Linked DNA regions of Homo sapiens: all the other regions are linked to region 3. The links are contacts of gene promoters, found by promoter capture Hi-C in blood cells and fetal thymus (Javierre and others, 2016). All regions are on one chromosome and are shown on one strand. The core of a region is centred on a gene start or on the middle of the fragment in contact, and the rest is flanking DNA. Distances in the headings are between cores, read along the strand shown. Region 1 holds the start of MAGEH1 (MAGE family member H1). Region 2 has its middle 7.7 kb from the start of ZXDB. Region 3 holds the start of UBQLN2 (ubiquilin 2).

Region 1 (3,568 bases), core at 985-3,484, 1.1 Mb after region 3:
TTTTCTCGAATTATTTCAGGGTTGTTATTATTAACCATTTTTATTGTCATTAGTTTAAAGTCAGCCACAACACCCACCCTTTGAGGGTCTGCCCCGCTCACTTCTTCCCTTGCCTCATTCCTTGTTCTCCACTTTCCCCTTCATATAACCTTAACAGTTCGGTGAAGAGTTTATTTCCAAATGTCCACGCTACCTTCAGTGCCTCCATTTTTACTCCCTCCCCTTCTTCTCTATTATTTCCAAACCTCAGATTGTCCCCTCACCAAGATTTTCTGACGGTCTCATCTTTTTTTATTTCTGAAGTACCCCATGACAACCTTTTCCCCTGCAACCACCCCTTCTCTCTGCCCTCCTCCTCTCAAGATGATTTTTGTGTATTTTCTACTTCCGTGGCAGGCACCCTGTGATGTCCTCTTCTTTTTGCCAGTGCTCCCTCCCCTATGCTGGGTGGAGTATCCAATCAAATATCTAATACATAATATTTTCATCATATATTCTGATCGTATATTTCAGTCCCCCCCAAACTTATTTAAGTGTCTCTTGAATTTTCACACATCCTATGGTGCTCCCTTCCCCGGCCCACTCCCCAAGACAGGTCACATAAGGTTTTTTACATTTTCATGGCACTTCAGGCTCGTTCTCTATCCCAGCATTTACTGCACTGCCAGTTTACCTATTTTTCTTTCCCACATAATCTAGAACATTCTTTGGACCTGGAGGATGTGTACTAGGGAGTATCCCTAGAATCTAGACTGGTGCCTCACATAACAGGTGGTCAGAAAATGCGCAAGATGTACTATTCGTTAGGCTTTTATTTTTCTCTATGTTCTGCAGTAACTAAGGAAAATCATGGTAAATGTCAATCTTCACACAACAGCAGACACAAAGGGTTTCAGAAACGTCAGATATGAAGAAATCCTCCATCCTTCTTCAACATTTTACTGGGTATTTCAACTTCAAAAGAACAGCTTATTTCTATAAGTGCTGTACAAGATCATAGATTATGATGGAACGACTTCATTTTAGAACGTTAGCAAAACTGTTATACTAAATGTCAATGACAGGAAACAAAGAAAAAAATTTGTTCAATTATATTTTTAAACATATTGTTATTCTCAACAAACGGAATTTTAAAACGAATACAATTTTCCATTATCAAAAGCAAACACTCTATTTCGCAGTTGAACAATGATCACTGATCACAAATATCAAATACAGTGTCCCCCGCCCCCAATCGACATCATTTTCAACTTAGGACCCTGGCATCTACTCCTTGGGGTACCTGTGACTCTCTTTTACACCCCCAAGGGTCTGCCTCAGATCTACTTAAGGGGCGGAATAACCCCTAGCACCTGAATTGAGGATAGCCTCAACCTCTGCATCATCGTCCGAATCCCAGTCATAATTACAAGGCCAGTCTTTAGAGCATCGGTTACGAACCCTTGCCACAAAATGCATGACTTTCAGTTTGCTCGATTCCACGTGTGCTCGGGGCCCCCAGAAGAACTCATACTCCACCGGACTGCTACGGGGCACCGGTTTATAAATCAGGTACCCTCTGCGCACAAACTCTTCTGTGACGATCTTCTTCGGATCTCCAAAGATGCTGTGCTGACGTCCAGGCTGCATTCCTAACTTCCCCAGCACTTTCCAGACCAGAGCTTCCTTGGCGCTGTTGCCCATGATGAAGATGAGCGCTAATATAGACATCAGGAGACTTTTCTTGGTGCCCTGAAAATTGCTCCGGGGCACTGAAGGCTTTTGTGCTTGGGCAGTGCTCGAGGCTTCTTCAGGGGTGGTAGAGGCCTCCTCTGGAGTGCTCGGGTCTTCCTCGGGGCCGCTCAGGTCGTCTTCGGGGGTGCTCGCTACCACAGAGGCGGCCATAGGGGTCTCGGAGGCCTCTGAGGCCTGGATTTTGCGATTGTTGCGGTTCTCTTCTGCGGCTCTCGCATTACGGCGGCGCCGACTCTTTCGTCCCCGAGGCATGTCTCCTGCTAGAGGCTCAAAGCTTACAGCAGTCCTAGGGAAGGATGCTTGTAGCCTCTTCAGGAAGCAACAGCTTTATACCGTAAGAAGCTGCTGCCGCTGAAGCTACCAATGTCAATAGAGTCTTTGTAGCAATAAACAAGCCGTTCTCAGCTACAAAGGGTAGTTCCCACGCCAGCTGACTTGCGCGAGCAGCCGCCGCCAGCACTTGCCGCAGCTGCAAGCCCGCGAGAAAGCTCAGCAAAATTGGCCCCGCCTCTCCTGCCACGCACACTCCTAGCACCAAAGAGGAAGTAGGCTGGTCCTCCACAGGGACTTCCGCTAGCAGATAGGAAAAGGGGCAGGCAGCGACAGGGGTGGGACAAGGGCAGAAATGACAGCTAGAGATTGGAGGGGCCTGGAGTTTGCAGAAGAGAAAAAAATAGCTTAAAGTTTCTGTATTTTCAGCCTACTACAAACATTCCAAGATTGGCTCGACGGTCTAGGGAAGGAGTGCGTCGGCTCCATTCCCACTGACGACGGGCTGTGTGTGTGTTGGGGGTTGGGAGGCCAGGGGTGGCGGGAGGGTGTATTCTTGGAAGGAGTCAGCTGTCTCCAGCCTTCCTTTCCTGTCTTGGCTTACACAGCGCGTTCATTCACTCGCCCTGTTTTCAGAAGGCATTTGTGTGTATACTAATCAATTTGTGGTCCCATGTAGGACCCGGATAATATTGTTATGGCAGATGTGCTGGATGATGTGAGGAGATGGGACTGCAGAAACAAGCAGGGTGAAAGAGGTGCAGAGCCTTTAAAATGTGGTAGATATATGCACGATATATATACTGCCCTGCTTTTATACATACATACATACATACCTATATCGTGCATATATCTACCACATTATGTTTATATACAGTGCATATATCTACCACACATATATGTATGTATGTATGTATGAAAGCAGGGCAGTGACAGGATCAGAGGAATTGCATTTGTGCAGCCTCTCAGAAAAGCAAACTGTTTCCTGGCAGACCACATAGGAAGCAATTGGAATAAGAAGCACTGGGAACTAAAGTATGCCTTAAGGCTGTTGCCATGGGGATGGAGAGGCAGAAAGACATTTTAAAGGTGACCGTTGAAGGGCTTTGCAGACAGAATGGATGAAGTGGGGAATGTGGAGGGGATGATGGAGTTCAGATTGGCTCCAAGGTTTCTAGGCTCCAGTCTTCCTGGACTCCTGATTTATTTTGCTTCTTTCAGAGCATACTCTGAACTTTATCCACTGCTTGCTTTTGCTCACTGTTTGCTCTGCCTGACCTGTCTTCTCAGCCTTCTCCAACTATCTAAATTCCATTTGACTGCTCACAGACCTGTTTCTCCCTGAAGCTTGTCTTGATCTGCCCAAAAGGGTAATGAGTCCATTTTTACTCCATTGAGGAAAGCCCTATAACTAGCACTCTATATCTTTCTTATGTCATTCAAGGTATTAGTTTAAGCAAGTCACTTCTCTCTAAGCCTGTTTTCCCATCTATAAAGTGGGGCTAAAGTACAGCCCTCATAGGGTTGTGAGAATTAAATGAGATAAAAAATGAAAAGCATTTAT
Region 2 (3,353 bases), core at 517-3,016, 1.0 Mb before region 3:
AATTCTTAGCATTAAAGAAAGCTTTATTTTGCTATTTTGAAACAGAATTTTCCCTAATTGTCAAAAATGTTAAGCTACTATTTTTTACCAGAAATCAAAACACTTACTTGTTTACCAGAACCTCCACCCCTGAGCACTGGTGAACTTTTAGGTTCCTCCATATTTAACTCTAACTTTCAGTCCCAAATGTTACATGAAATTAATTACTAGTTCATTCCTTCCACCTAGTGTGTCAATATAATACATTTATCTTTGAAATAATGTCATTATTTTTCCACAGAATTAAATTTTGCAATAATGTCTTATAATAAGAAGAAAAGAAATTTACACACAAAGTGTAGGCTTAATACCTTTCCTCATTCATAAAATGAGGGAGATAAGTACACAATCCCCAGGATCACTTATAGGTATAAGATTCATCAAGCCAAAAGTTGTAATCTAAAAATAAATAAAAAACAAAGTCTGTTTCATAATTGATTTTCATATTTTGCTATAGTTTATCAAATCTACTTCTCAGAAACCTGTCAAAGTTTTAGCTTAGAATACTTTTGTTGCAATACTTATACTTTAAACAAAATTTTAGTTTCTGATGAAATACAATATTTCATGATATTGTGCATATTGGTTTCCCATCATCAAAATTTATGCTCACTTACAGAAAATGGTACTTCTTATTCTGATAAACCTATAATGTACCTCTTAAAGCTTTGTTATATACTGGTTTTAATAGTTTCCCATATAGATCATATCTTTAAACATAAAGACAATACCTGTTACATAATTGATACTCAAAAAAATTTGGTATGGATTAATGAGTTATACTTTAGGTGTAATAATTCACAATACCTCATATATTAGGTATTCAATACATAAGTGCTGATTGATAGCTTAGTAAACAAATAGAATGGATGGTCTTAAGGGATTCAGAAATTGTTGGTGCTGTTAGGTATCTCTGTGTGCTTTGTTTTAAAATACCGAATTAGGATATTGTCTTTAGAAAAATAAAAAGTTAAAAGAGTTCTGTATGTCTTTAAATGTCAGCAATTAACAAGAGGGAGAAATTATCCTAGGTGACAATGTGGGACTCCTATCAAATTCACCATCAAATACAGTGTAATTCCTGGAGAGTTATTTACACTCCTTTAATGTTTTACCCTTTATTTTTGTTCCATTCCTTCTAGAGTTCTCTCTTTTAGTGGACAGGGAAACTACAAAATGGAAAGACTGTTGTAGGGGTTCTCACGCTATCACTTGGCTCATGATTCTCTTTAGTGACAGAAGAGATTATGAGTAAGATGCCTCAATGAGGCAATCTCACACAGATCCAGGAATACTGGACTTTTCACCACCTTACTCTTCCCAGCTCCAACTGAGACAGATGCAGGTAAAATTCACTTCTACTTTCATAGTGAACTGCTGAAATTCATGACAAAATACTGAATTCCTGAAATTATGATGCAGTCCTTTATAATACACAGACTATTATACCCTAAACATAATCAGTTAGTATACAGCACAGAAGGCATAGCTCATTTTCATACAGAGTAGTCTCAGGAAGTGATGTAATGTCCAGATTGGCATTGTCCAATAGAAATATAATGAGAGTTTATATGTAATTTTATTTTTTAAAAGAGCCATATGTTTAATTTTAAATTTTCTTTACTTTTCTTCTTTTTTAAAGAGATAGGGTCTCACTCTGTCACCCAGGCTGGAGTGCAGCGGTGGGATCATAGCTCACTGAAGCCTCAAATTCCTGGTCACAGTGATCCTTCCGCCTTGGCCTCCTAATGTGTTGGGATTACAGGCATGAACCACTGTGTCCTGCCTTTATTTCAGATTTTTTTAGTAGCCACATTAAAAAAGTAAGAAGAAACTGATAAAATTAATTTGAATATTTTCTTTGACCGAATCTATTGAAAACATTATTCAACATGTAATCAATATTAAAATACTAATCAGATATTTAATTTTTTTGTATTAAGCCTCTGAAAACTTTTTGTATTAAGGTTTATATTTTACTTTCATAGCACATCTCAATTTAGATACTAAATTTTCAATGGCTAAAGTGAAATTTAGTCCTGCTGAAACAATAGAGTTGTGTCTAACAGAAAAATGTTTATACTGCTTCAGTTTTAAAACTTAAATTTAATTAAGAATTCAGTTCCTCGGTTGCACTAGACACATTTCAAGTGCTGAATAGGCACATATGACTAGTAGCTACCATATTGGCCAATGCAGATCTGGATCATTCAAGACAAGCTGGGGAGGTCTCTCGTAATTCAAAAGGAGGTAAGAGGATCATAACTGTGTAGGTAGTTCTGAGAATGCCTAAAGGAACCCCCTGCCAAAAAAAAAATAAAAAAAAAAAGTAGCCTTTTGCTGTCTTCTAGAAAGTGGATAAACCACAATGTATCCACGTTATAATGTATCCTCATGCAGGATAACAATGCTTTAACAATTATTGTTTAACTAAATACACCATCTTTATACACTGATTCTCAGAAAGAACTCTTACTTCCCTCATTCTGTTAGTAAAAATATGATTATTATAGTCCCCAAGGAAACCTGAGTTACCATTCTTGGTTTCCATGATGATCTCTCTCTCCCTCCCTCCCTCTTTTCTTCCCCCCCACTCCACCGCAATGAGGTACTAAGTAATATTCCTTCTTCTCTTCAGTATTTGAAGAGATATTTGAAATTATCTGATATTTGAAATCTGTCTTCAAATACTGGAAATATTTGAAAATATTTCCAATACCTCTCCACTGACACCATCCTAGTCCTGGCTTCATCCTTCATATCACACCTTGATTGCTGCAAAAGCTTTCTCACTGATTTTCCTATTCCGGTCTTTCCCATCTAATCCACATTGTACACTTGCATGACATTAACTTTTCTAAAACATAATTTTCATTGTCTGACTCCTCTATTAAAACATATTTGGTGGCTCTTCTCTGTGCCCAGAATAAATGTCTCATTATTCTTACTGCTTTTTTTTTGTTAACCTCTTAATCATTTTCATTTGGTGCCAAAGTAAACATTTTTCCGTTTTTGTTCTTCAATAGTTTAATATATTATTTTTCTATCTCCTCCCATCAATGGCGATCTCTTTAAAGGTCAGGGTTATATAGTACTCCTCTCACAGACCCTTCAATATGTTATGGTGTAATCTTCACAATGACGCTCAGTAAATATTTGTTAATTTGGAATATATACAGTATAATCTCCAGCTTACAAATTGCTTTCTTATATGTTTCCTGGACATGAACATGAACAATGTAGGTCACAGAGACAAACTTCATAGTCTATCCATGTTTCTCGACTACTACTCAAGCATTTTGTTGTATTAATTA
Region 3 (3,711 bases), core at 1-2,500:
TCGTGCTGGTAGTTGCAGAACTCTGGGTAGCTGGCGGTGGTGCCCATGGATTGGGTAGTGGATCGCGATTTTCTGTGCGGGAAGGCTGCGTACCTTCCCCAGAGGAGGAACTACTCCCCACGGAGGCAAATGGATTACCCCCAAACTGCTCTTGTGCGGCATTCAGCATCGGCTCTTGAATGTCAGTGTACATGCGCCGTAAAGCATTATAGCCACCTGGGATGCTTTCTAGATTGCTAAGAGCCAGGTCTTGATTTCTCATCATCTCTTGCATCATGGCTGGATTCCTGGCAATTTCGAGTGTCTGCCTCATTATGTCTGGGTTGTTGAGCAGGTGACTGATTTCTGGGTTTCTCTGAATCAATTGCTGCATCTGTGGATTAGCCATAATGAGCTGCCTCATCAGATCGGGATTCGAAAGCATGCTCTGAACAAAGGGATTTTCCATTATTTGGATCATCATCTCAGGGCTGGCCATAAGCTGCTGCTGCATCTGGCTCTGGAGCTCAGAGAAGTTGGTCGAGCTCAAGCCCAGGCTGCTAAGGCCTGCAAGTCCTCCCAGGCTCCCCAACCCAAACGGGTTGCTATTTGTGGAAATAGGTGTGGAGTTACTCCTGGGAGTCGACGCCGAGGTAGTGTTAGTTCCCGCGGCATTGCTAGGCTGCGTGGACTGGCCCTGAGGTCGGTTCTGGCTTTTGATGACAAGGTGAACAGTCAGCCCATCATGGATGCCATGCTGGATCAAGGTATCTTGATCTTTTAAGATTTTTCCGGCAAAAATCAGCACTAGCTGATCGGTTTGGGATTTGAAGCGTTTCGAAATCGCTTCCTTAAACTGCTGAACCGAGCTGTTCTCGGGCACCGCGAACTCCTCTTTCTCTTTGGGAGTCTTCACCGTGACTTTGATGATTTTAGGCTCAGCCGGGGCAGCAGCCGAGCCTTGGGCCGCAGCAGGGCCGCGGGAGGGGCGCGGGGGGCCGCTGCTCTCGCCATTCTCAGCCATGGCGGCCGCGGTGACGCAGGCGGGCAGGGAAGGCGCGGGCGGGCGAAAGAGAGAGCGCGAGGGAAGGAGGAAGGAAGGAGGCACCGCCGCAGCGGGCTGGGCCGGGTCAGGCGGGGAGCGCGGAGCACGGTACCTCTGTGATGAAGACTGCGGTTCCCTGGTCCTCCGGTGGAGAAAGGCCTGGGCGTAGGCCGCTGGCTGAGGTCTCCGCGCTCCGGTCTCTGGGCCTCCTCCGCCGCCGCCTTGTGATCCGACCGCGCGCACTCCCAGCAACTCTGGCAGCCGCTCCGCCTGCTGATCCCCGCCCCTTCCCCTCCCCCAGTTCCGCGCTCGCCTCCCCGCCCCCTCTGCTGACGCGGCGCCAGGCCTAGATTGATAGATTTGGCTCGGTCAAAATTAAAAACTTCTGCACTGAAAAGAAAAAAGGGAGAGAGAGAAACAAAGGGAGAGAGAGAAGAGAACAGAACAGTACAGAGCAGGCGAGGCAGAGAGGGTGAGACGGAGAGAAGGAGGCGGTAGAGAGTCAGCTTCTGTAAACGACATTAAAAGACCAATGGAGAATGTATATTAGCAATCTGTAAGGCAGTAAAAGGGTGAAAGCCTGAATCGAACAGATCCCACGTATAAGACGAAAAATGAATAATAAAGAACTCTGACAAAGCAAAAAGAAAAGAGGAACACCTCCAGTAGGGGAAGGGAAGAAGACAGAGCAGGAGCGTGCATTTTACAAAAGGAGTGCAAATGGCCAATAGACATTAAAAAAGGATGATTAATTTCACTACTAATAAAAAGAAATCAAGTTAAAACAATAAAATTCTACTTTTGGCTTATCATATTGGCAGGGAAAAAAATAATGGTAAACCTTCTTGTTGACAGGGACCCTAAAAAATGCCCTCTCAGGCTAGCTGAAGTGTGAATTGTTACAACCATAGGGCAATTTGAAAATATATATCAGCATTTTGAATGTTTCCACCTTTATTTAGAAATGCCTAACCTAGACACTTCGCCTAATAATCGGATGAGGATGCAAAAATATTTATGTATAAAATGTATATACATTGTAGCATTTTAAAATGTTATTTAAATATATTAACTATCTGTTTACATGAGATTAGTTGAGCACATTATCATATTACCATACAAGAAAATATAGAGTGTCTTTAAAGGTATACATGAAATAAACTGTAGTTATAGGGAAATCACAGAGTATTTTCAATTATGCCTTTGTATATTTCTGTACAGTTACAAACTATATAAGAATATATGTTCCAATATCAAAAATACAATAAATATATTTTTATTTTAAAAGCAATTTTTGAACAGTTTGTTGTATATGTAAACCGTATGTGTAAAAAAATCTGGAAGGCTATGCACAAATAAGTTAATGGCTGTTAGTACTGTTTGCTGAAATTATGAATAATTCTTATTTTCTATTTTCATAAGATTTTGAATTTTCTGATGATTTTTGTAAGTATGCACTACAGAAAGGTATTTTGGGGAAGAGTATGGGTAGAAATTGACAGGCACATAATAGTAGTGGCAAACATTGACATATTTACCTAATTTAATTACAGATTAAGTAAGAGCAATAAAGATGTAGCAATGCTGAGAAAGAGAACTTGAAAAATAGAAGAAATAATTTCAAATTTATCTATATATTTCTAACTCTAGGTTAAACCACACAGAAAATTCTTCCCCAACCCCCACCCTCTACCAAGCATCCACCAAAGCACCACTGCTTTCAACATTTAACAGCATTTCAAAGTCATTAGGTCACAAATACTTTAATAAATCTGAAGATAAGAAAAATATATATATACAGGTATGTTATATCCATCGATGGAGAAATGGAAGAATTAATATTATTTTACCTCTCTATTTTATTAATATAATTAATAAAATACAGAGGTAAAAAGATGACTAGCTTTAAATATGTTAATATGTATAGATCTAAAAAGCCAAATTAATTAGTATTAGGTTGATGCAAAAGTAATTGCGGTTTTTGCCATTGAAAGTAACGAATTGTTACTATTATACAATGGTTTTTGCCATTGAAAGTAATAGCAAAAACCGCAATTACTTTTGCACCAACCTAATACATGCCAAACAGCACTCTAATACATTCTTATGTATATTTGAAATATTCTTTTAGAAATATACCAAACTTGCACCCATGAGGAAGAGGAAATGGAATAGGATACAGGATAGTGAGTAAAGGGAACTTAAATATGTAAAAATGCTTTTTATCTTTAAAATGAAAGCAAATATGATAAAATATCAGCAATAGTTAATTATGGGTGGTGAGAATATGAAAATATTATAGGTAATCTTTAATTTCCATAGAATAAAGCTAGATATTAATAATCAAAGTATGAACAAAAAACCAACCATTTGATTATTAAAACATAACTGAATACTTTTGGGGCAAAGTGCAATGTTCTTATTAGAATAAATTTACAAAAATAATGATAATGAGAGCATATACAGCAATACTAATGCTAGGATTTTTCTACGTGTGATCTGAGAACATTGTTAAGAATGCATGTTTCTAGGCCCCACGCCAAACCTACTGAAATAAGTGGTGCACTGGAAGCTGCATTTGTATCAAGGTCCAGTTTAATATTATTTCATTTATTAAGTACTATGTGGATGAACTCAGAGTCAAATTTATACATTCAAAGACTTAAAATATCAAACAACAGATTGAA

What was found. The method cuts DNA at HindIII sites, captures the fragments that hold promoters and counts their contacts. A CHiCAGO score of 5 or more calls a contact.
Region 1: the fragment with the promoter of MAGEH1 here is called in contact with the fragment with the promoter of UBQLN2 in region 3 in 1 of 17 cell types (fetal thymus); the score reaches 11.3 in fetal thymus.
Region 2: a contact is called between a fragment that was not itself captured here and the fragment with the promoter of UBQLN2 in region 3, in 1 of 17 cell types (non-activated CD4 T cells). The highest score is 7.0, in non-activated CD4 T cells.

The regions. Positions count from the first base shown.
Region 1 is chrX:55,450,793-55,454,360 of GRCh38, reverse strand. MAGEH1 (MAGE family member H1) reads right to left here and starts at 2,234. Exons shown (of 1, transcript NM_014061.5): 1 at 795-2,234. The coding sequence starts at 1,986. The coding sequence ends at 1,327. It overlaps MIR4536-2 (microRNA 4536-2), which reads right to left and starts at 2,866; the gene lies at 2,779-2,866. MIR4536-1 (microRNA 4536-1) reads left to right here and starts at 2,779; the gene lies at 2,779-2,866. RefSeq lists enhancers at 1,772-1,821, 1,972-2,021. The HindIII fragment of the contact is 1,343 bases long and covers 2,011-3,353 here.
Region 2 is chrX:57,597,989-57,601,341 of GRCh38, reverse strand. No RefSeq gene overlaps it. Among named protein-coding and RNA genes, the nearest start is that of ZXDB, 7.7 kb to the right of the region's middle. The HindIII fragment of the contact is 2,118 bases long and covers 708-2,825 here.
Region 3 is chrX:56,561,166-56,564,876 of GRCh38, reverse strand. It overlaps UBQLN2 (ubiquilin 2), which reads right to left and starts at 1,250. Exons shown (of 1, transcript NM_013444.4): 1 at 1-1,250. The coding sequence starts at 1,003. RefSeq lists enhancers at 254-313, 324-523, 920-1,547. The HindIII fragment of the contact is 11,191 bases long and covers 1-3,711 here.